Linked DNA regions of Homo sapiens: regions 1 and 3 are each linked to region 2. Evidence: promoter capture Hi-C in 16 types of primary human blood cells and fetal thymus (Javierre and others, 2016). All regions are on one chromosome and are shown on one strand. Each heading gives the region's core, a stretch centred on a gene start or on the middle of the fragment in contact. The rest is flanking DNA. Distances are from core to core; before and after follow the strand shown. Region 1 has its middle 6.9 kb from the start of PDHA1. Region 2 holds the start of SH3KBP1 (SH3 domain containing kinase binding protein 1). Region 3 overlaps PDHA1 (pyruvate dehydrogenase E1 subunit alpha 1).

Evidence for each region. Contacts are between HindIII fragments. The CHiCAGO score rates a contact against its expected background, and 5 or more counts as called.
Region 1: a contact is called between a fragment that was not itself captured here and the fragment with the promoter of SH3KBP1 in region 2, in 1 of 17 cell types (neutrophils). The highest score is 5.6, in neutrophils.
Region 3: a contact is called between a fragment that was not itself captured here and the fragment with the promoter of SH3KBP1 in region 2, in 5 of 17 cell types (neutrophils, total CD8 T cells, M1 macrophages and 2 more). The highest score is 10.4, in neutrophils.

Annotation. Positions count from the first base shown.
Region 1 is chrX:19,335,718-19,338,417 of GRCh38, forward strand. No RefSeq gene overlaps it. Among named protein-coding and RNA genes, the nearest start is that of PDHA1, 6.9 kb to the right of the region's middle. The HindIII fragment of the contact is 404 bases long and covers 1,216-1,619 here.
Region 2 is chrX:19,886,285-19,888,984 of GRCh38, forward strand. It overlaps SH3KBP1 (SH3 domain containing kinase binding protein 1), which reads right to left and starts at 1,316. Exons shown (of 18, transcript NM_031892.3): 1 at 1,023-1,316. The coding sequence starts at 1,026. RefSeq lists silencers at 718-857, 1,338-1,407, 1,468-1,767. The HindIII fragment of the contact is 9,463 bases long and covers 1-2,700 here.
Region 3 is chrX:19,355,375-19,358,074 of GRCh38, forward strand. PDHA1 (pyruvate dehydrogenase E1 subunit alpha 1) reads left to right here. Exons shown (of 11, transcript NM_000284.4): 7 at 1-130; 8 at 312-383; 9 at 2,278-2,345. Among named protein-coding and RNA genes, the nearest start is that of PDHA1, 13 kb to the left of the region's middle. The HindIII fragment of the contact is 2,524 bases long and covers 1-2,512 here.

The DNA of each region.
Region 1 (2,700 bases), core at 168-2,667, 550 kb before region 2:
AAACTGCAGAACAGATCTGTTTGTTATTTCTCATGTTGGAATGCCACCTGGCGGAATTGTCCTTTGTTAAAAAGTACATCTATGGTCCTCAAACTTGGCATCCAAAATACCTGGAGAGCTTGTTATTTTATTTTATTTCTGAGACAGGGTCTTGCTCTAGCACCCAGGCTGGAGGGCAGTGGTGTGATCACAGTTCACTGCAGTCTTAACCTCCCAGTCTCAAGCGATTCTCCTGCCTCAGCCTCCCAAGTAGGTGGGACCACAGGTGCACCACCACGCCCAACTAATTTTTGTATTTTTAGTAGCAGTGGGGTTTCACCATGTTGGCCAGGCTGGTCTCAAATGCCTGACCTCAAGCAGTCCTCCCACCTCAGCCGCCCAAAATGCTGGGATTACAGGCGTGAGCCAACGTGTCCAGCCCGGAGAACTTTTTAAATCAAAGATTGCAGGTTTCCACTCCCAGAGTTTCTTATTCAGGAGGTTTGGGATGGGGTCTGGGAACGTGCATTTCTAACAGATTTCCCAGTTTGTGTTGATGCTGCTTGTCTGAGGTGCACTTTGAGAATTACTAAGTCCTCAACTCCTTAAATTTTAGTTGCCCACATAAGTGGGTTCTTTCCTATATGATTTTCGCAATTCTTTCATCTTTGAAGAACTGTAGAGATTTGAAATCTTGGCTTTCTGGAGCCTTTCCAAAGAACTCAGGATACCTTTTTTTTTTTTGAGTTGGGGTCTCACTATGTTGCCCAGGCTGGTCTCAAACTCTGTGCTCAAGTGATCCTCCCGACTCCTGAGTAGCTGGGACCACAGGCATGTGCCACTGTGTGCAGCTCGGGATATCTTTTGATTAAATCTACCAGTTGCTTTTGAAAACAGTTTTTACAACCTGATCTAAGTCACTTTACAATGTAGGGTTTTGTCTGGTTTTTATAGCCCTGCATCCTAGAATAGGCACTCTTGAAATATCTGTTGGACGAGTGAATGAATGTGGCCCTTTGACACCATGTCAGTTGGATAAATAGGGTTGTGTCCCACAATTAAAGCAGATGAAGCTCTTTGTCTCCTTCCTTCTCTATAACCTATTATGCTACAAAAAAAGAAGTCATAGACAGAATTCTATCCAGATCATTTATTTATGCAGGCACAAAATGTGCCATACATCCTGTTCCCTTAAGCTTGGCAAGGGCCTGTTCTCTCCTTCTGGGAACCGTGACAAGCTTCTTCATGAAGTGTTGATCCCAGGCAGACCCAAACAGGTGGCTTGTCAGACGGTTAGACTCTATTCACACGAGGGCTGGCGGCCCTGAGAGTCTTTTGAGCCAACTGCATATATATATATTTTTTTGAGACGAAGTCTCACTCTGTCACCCAGGCTGGAGTGCAGTGGCGTGATCTCAGCTCACTGCAACCTCTGCCTCCTGGGTTCAAGTGTACCCTCCCTGGCTCAGTGTAACCCGCACGGACCTAGGGGGACTGAACAAAGGGGACTGAACGTGGGAATAAAAGACAAGAGACAAAATAATACATTTGGAAGAAGGGGTCAGTGGCACCTCAGCTTCCCAAAGTGCTGGGATTACAGGCGTGAGCCACTGCTCCAAGCCAGAAGATAGAAATTTCTAAGCTTTGCTTTACCAGTGAGGACCCAGGTCACCAAGAAGTGAAAAGATTTGCATATTTACTTATAGTCACAAGATTCTAGTATAGTGCTCATTAAGGATGGGGCTCTGTCTTAAGTGCCTGACAAATATTAATCCATATAAGCTTTATGACAGCCAGCCCTATGAGATGAATGTTGTCATTATGCTCCATTTAAAGACGAGGAAACCGAAGCACAGAGAGTTTAGGCAAATTGCCCGAGGTCACACAGCTGGTAAGTCGTTGAGCCAGGATTTGAGACCAGGCAGACTGGTGCCAGAGTCCAGATGCTAGGCCGCCTCTCCGTAGGACAGTTCTTAGGTTTCCAAAGGCTGCTTCCGTTTGGGGATCAGCCACAGAAAATGATTGATAGTAACTTCAGGCCAGACTCATCAGTGTGTGCCTAAAATCTTCCCTATTAAAATATGTATTTTTCCACATATCTCCATTGGATAATAGAAAGACATGATGGGCCGAGTGCAGTGGATCATGCCTTTGATTTCAGCACTTTGTGAGGTTGAGGTGGGAGGATCGCTTGAGCCCAGGAGTTCGAGACTTGCCTGGGCAACATAGCGAGACCCTGTCTCTATTTTAAAAATCATATAGAAAGATATGCTCATACTCACTGTGGTTCACCTATCTTAGATTCAGGAACCCCGTGCTCTCCTGAACACACTATGGCACCTCCTTCCATTAATTTCCTTTAGGATCCTGTCATGAGAGGGCACAGCTCATCTTCCATATTTACAAAATGCAAAGCTGACATGAACATCCTTCTCTGGCTTCCCATTATTCTTAGGAAAAGTGTCTAAATCTTTAATGAGGTCTAACAGGACCAGGACAATCTATTGCCAACCTCGTGCTCAGCGCTCAGACCACAGCTAGAAGGTCTCCTCCTCAGTGCTGAGGTCTGAATGTGCCCCCTAAAATTCATCTACTGAAACTTAACCTCCAATGTGAGGGTATCAGGAAGCGGGGCCTTTGGGAGGTGATTAGATGATGAGGATGGAGCTCTGCCCCACTCCCCCAGGCCCCTTTGAATGGAATTAGCACCCTGATGGAAGA
Region 2 (2,700 bases), core at 66-2,565:
AACACAGAAAGGTCTCACTTTATTATGATTTATTATTATCTGCAGCCTTCCTATGCCTGGCCTAGGAACATCCAAAAATAATCTGCCAGAGGCTGAAAAACAGAAGCTGGCTGTCAGCAAGAACATTACCTGGGTAGACCAAACATTTAATAGCCCAAGTAATCATAAGTGCCTTGCCAATAAAGTGGCAGCTTCTCTGGGCAGCAAGGTGGTTCCAATGCTCCGGGGTCTAAATCAAATGGGACCCAGGGGGTTCAAAGGTTAGTTGGCTACTTCGAACTGATGTTTACTCAGTAAATCAAAGACCGGATCACCATTTCCAGGTCCCAGACCCTGAAGACTTAAAGGACAGTATGGGAAGTGGCCTTTTAGCATCACGGAGCAGAGAGCTCGCCAGGCTGGAGGAAGGCAGCAGCGAAAGGGTCGGGGCCGGGAGGAAGGGGGGCGCAAGGAGAGGAGCGTCAGGTGCTCTGGACCCCGGGACTGCGAGCCAGACCAGGAACTGGGGCGTTTCCCGCCCCACCCCCCAACCCCTGTCAACCCCCAGCAAAGGCAACCCAGCCCCCTCCAAGACCCCGAGGTTCCAGCTTCCCCCGAGACAGGACCAGGAAGACACCAGCAGCCCCGCGCAGGGCCGGAGCCCACCAGGTCCGGGTGCCCGTGTCCGCAGCGCAGAGGAGGGCGCGCTCGGGTGCAAAAATGGCCAAGACAAAACTCTCCCCGCCCACCCGAAAAACCAACCACACCCCCTGCATCCCTCAGCCCGAGCCGCCCGGGGCCAGCCCCCGTGATCGTCTGCTCAGGCCCCCGCGGGTTCCCGTCGGCGCCGCGCGCGGGCTCGGCGGGCACACGGGCGCAAGTGGGAGTGAATGGGGGTGCGCGAGGCAGGCGAGGGCGCCCACCGCGGTGTCCCCCGTCCGGACCCTGCCCCCGGGGCGCCCTCCCGGGCTCCGCGGTTCTGGGACTGGCGCGCCGCCCTCAAGGCTGAAGTGGACGCCCGGACGCGGGCGGCCCCCACTCACCCATTGGCGTCGAGCCGGGCCGGGCCGCCGAGGCAGCGTGAAAGTTGGCGGAGGCGGGCGTGGGGGTTGGGGCGCCGGGATCGGGGCGCTGGGATCCAGGCGCGAGGGTCCGGACGCGGCGGCGGCTGGGCCGGCTTCTTCCTCAGTGGCGGCGGCGGCGGCTCAGCGCCGCCCGCTGCTGCCTCTGCTGCTGCTGCCGCTGCTGCCCCGGGGCGACTCCTGCTGCTGCTGTTGCATCGCGGCCCAATGCGCCCGGCTGCGCCGGGTTTCCTGCTCCCCGCGAGTGGAAATTGCGAAAAAAAAAAAAAAAAAAAAAAAAAAAAAAAAAAAAAAAAAAAAAAAAACAGCGCCGCCCAGCCCAGCGCCCGGCAGCCGCGGCCGCGCCGCCCGCTCTCCCCTCCTCCTCAGCGCTGCCGCGAGGCTCCTGCAGCTCCGCCTGCCGGGGACGCGCGGCCGCCGGGCGGGGGCGGGGCCGGAGAGGGGCGGGGCCGGGGCCGGGGCCGCGTCGGGGCAGGCGCCGGGGGCGTCCCTGCGGCTGAGGGGCTTGGGCGCCCTCCTCACCGCCCGCGCCAGAGGCACCCCTCTCCGCGCGGCTGCCACCCACCCGCAGCGGCTGGGCTGACGCCCCGGGAAGTGCCGCGAGACTCCTCGAGACCGGAGGAGAGGGGCTTCTTGGGGGAGGGGCGTGGGAGTGCAGGGGCACGTGGAGAAGGAGGAGAAGGGGGCTGAGCGGGAGGGGGCGACAAGAGGTGGAGGACGGGCTGGGGATGGAGACCAGGGCAGGCCCGGGGCCAAACGCCTGACCAGGGTGATGGCAGGTGGCCCTGGGGCATCGAGGCAATCTGGAATGAGTTTTCCCGGGGGGCTGTTGGAGGGGAAGGAAAAGGGTCCCTTGGAAGGGAGAGAAACGCGGCGTCCCTTCGGTGGGGCGTGGGAACGCAGGCAGGCCAGGTGCGAGTTCCGCACAGAGGAGGCGGTGGCACTGACGTGGGGAAAAACGGGCGAAGGACGCAGCGGGGCCGAGGGGACGCATCGCCTCGCTGGGACCCGCCTAAGCCCCGCCCCAGTGCCTGGGCCAGGTGCGGTTCGGGTGTTCAGGAATGTTCCCGAGCTCTGACGTTCCCAGGAATCCGCTGAGATGAGGGCTGGCTCCCTCCCTAGCAGGCATTATTGTGCCTTACTGACTCCCAGACCTGGACGGCCGACCCTTGAGTGGGCGCTAAAATGTTAACAGGGAATCCGTGGGCATTCGTGGGCAATTCAGAAGCTCCGTTTTGGGTCCATTCACCACCACACCTTTCGCCATAGATACTCTGCCTGCCACCACATTCCTCTACCGGCCCGTTATTTCCTTTTCCCTTTCCACCATCTGGTGGTAGGAAGCGATAGTGAACTACATGGGAGACATTTAGGCAAAGAGCACGTAAGACAATAGAGAAATTACATCAGTGGCCCCTGGAAATGGAGGAGGCTGAGGGCTAGTGGACTCAAAAGGGACAAATGAAAGCCGACCCCCTACCCAAGAGAGGGGCTGTCTCCATACCTCACCTGTGTTGGCGGGGCAACTCTTGTAAATTGGTTACCGTCCTGGGATTTCTGTAGAAAATTGTTCTTATAACTGTTTCATGAGTTTTTCAAAAAACCTCAAAGTCAGGGTCTTACAAACAAGAGATCAGTA
Region 3 (2,700 bases), core at 1-2,500, 530 kb before region 2:
GGCAGCTTTGTGGAAATTACCTTGTATTTTCATCTGTGAGAATAATCGCTATGGAATGGGAACGTCTGTTGAGAGAGCGGCAGCCAGCACTGATTACTACAAGAGAGGCGATTTCATTCCTGGGCTGAGAGTAAGGACACCTGTGGTGGGGCCGGGGCCAAGGCCAAGGCCAAGGGTATGTCCTTGTGCAGACCCTTGACGATCTTAGAAACATTGGAGAGTTTCATTCTCATACAGGAGCAGGTCATGTGAAAGTAAAATGGTTTGGGGCAGTTGGATTCATGCTTCGCCCCTCCCCTGTTTATTACCAGGTGGATGGAATGGATATCCTGTGCGTCCGAGAGGCAACAAGGTTTGCTGCTGCCTATTGTAGATCTGGGAAGGTAAGGCTCTAAAGCCCTCTGGGCTAGTGACATTTATCTCTGGAAGTTCAAAGACTGCCTCCCATGTGCCTGCTGAAGCTGTTAGTGGGTACCTGCTAATTGAGGTGCATGAGATGGAAGCAGAGTGAAGGGAGCAGGGCTCCTTTGGGTAGCTTGGTCTTGGTAGCTCACCTGCTGGGAAGCCTACGTTTCTCTCATTTGGGGGAAGTCCGTTCTGGTGCTTCCTCTGCTTTGGCCTGTCTTCATGACAACTGATTTGCCTTTTCCTTAGGTTAATTCTGTCCCTCCTCCCCACCCCCCATTAATCATGAGTCCCTTGAAGGAACAGATTGGGGATCCCCACAGTGTCCAGCATAGAATGTCATGTATACAATAGGCATTTAATATGTGTGTCTTATACAAATTAAACAGTATGGTAGAAGCTCGTAATCTTAGTCTTGCTCAGTCCTAAGGATCTTTCCCTTTTCAGTGTATGGCAGTGAGGGAGATGGTAAGAGGGAGACTGGCCTAAAGAGGTTTCACTTCCTTTGGCACTAGTATAGGCTTAGGAGGTTTGGGTGTTCTCCCTAAATCAGTGTTCTACAGCCCAGAAACAAGGTTTCTGAAGTTGGCACTTCAGCGCCATACCATGTACGTTTAGGCAGTGATGTGAATCAGATGTGGCCAGCAATGATGGAAATGTCACAAAGTGGAGAGACAGGGAAGTGAGGGTGGGAATGTAGTAACATTAAATAAGAGCTAATGAGTAGAATGAACTAGAGCAGGACCAAGACTACAGCTTGGGTACAATGGGCTGAGCAGTCTATGTCAGGACCCTAAGGCTGGGAGTGCCAGGCCCTGAGTGATGGGTATTGACGCCACCTCTCCCAATTCCTGAAAAGAATACATGGGGGCCAGCCCTGGCTGGAGACAAGGGGAGTTGTAGAATGTAGTTGTAGAATGTGTGACTTTCCCAAACAGATAACCTTCACAATTCTGAGTTAGGTGTTATTGTTTTGCCCATTTTGCAGACAAGGAAACTGAGCCATAGAGCAGTTAAAGGTACACAGCTACTCTGTCTTGGAGCCAGCTCCCCACTCGCCCATTTTAACTGCTGCACCAAACCAACCAAGGATCCTCAATGTTTCTCCACCCCAGTGTTCAGAGCCGTCTCCTGGAAGTGGGCTAGTGTAGAATGAGCGAGCCCAACTGTCCAGACTCCCAGCAGAGCCTTGGGGTTTGGGTAGCAGAGGTTGTTGGTGCCTGCCAACTTTGTTACACACTAGCAAGGTCTGTGAAGTAGGAGTGGCTGCCAGCCCCACAACACACCATGAGAAAGGAGCATGAGATGGAAATCTGTCTAGCCAATAGCAGGAGGCTCTAGAACATGCTCAGAGCCTTTTTCTTTTTTCACAGGGTCTCGCGCAGTGGCACACTCACAGCTCACTGCACCCTTGACCTTCCAGAATCAGGTGATCCTCCCAAGTAGCTGGGACTACAGGCGCACGCCACCATGCCTGGCTAATTTTTGTATTTTTTGATAGAGATGGGGTTTTGCCATGTTGTCCAGGCTAGTCTCGAACTCCTGGGCGCAAGTGCTCTGCCCACCTCAGCTTCCCAAAGTGCTGGGATTACAGGCATGAGCCACCATGCCTGGCCTTCAAAGCCTTTTTGATTCAAAACAAGCTGTTGGCAGATTGCCTTATTAAAAATGAGAAAGATGAAATATGCAATCAATACTTGCTAGAAATGAGAACAGATCAGTCAACCAATAAGAAATTCGTGACAACTCAGAAGATCTGATAAGACTACACTGGACGCTTAATAAAGGGCCTGCGTTTGAGGCCGTGGATTGCCGGCCTGTTCTTCCAGTCATCGTTCCTAACTAACTAACTGCCTACCGGTTCTGTTTTAGGGGCCCATCCTGATGGAGCTGCAGACTTACCGTTACCACGGACACAGTATGAGTGACCCTGGAGTCAGGTACGCTCATGGGCAGTGTGGTTTCCATAGGGGTGGGCTTTGAATGGTGTTACATGGCAAAAGCAACACATTTCAGTATTTGCTTTTGGAGCTAGATACCAGTTCACTTCATGTACGCAGTTGTGTTGGGCATCAAGTTATCTGAAAGCAGTGCCTCCTAATAAGAAAGCTTTCTGAAAATGCCTACAGTGTATAGTGTGTGTGAGCACAAGCAGCAATTTTTAAAGAAAGAGTGTTATATACCTTAATTGTAGAGGGAAATTGTTACATAAAACAGGGCTGATGGTAGTGTAGTATCTTGGGGGCATTTAGCTTTTGTAGGCATTACCCCAAGTCTACACCTGGCATACTCTAC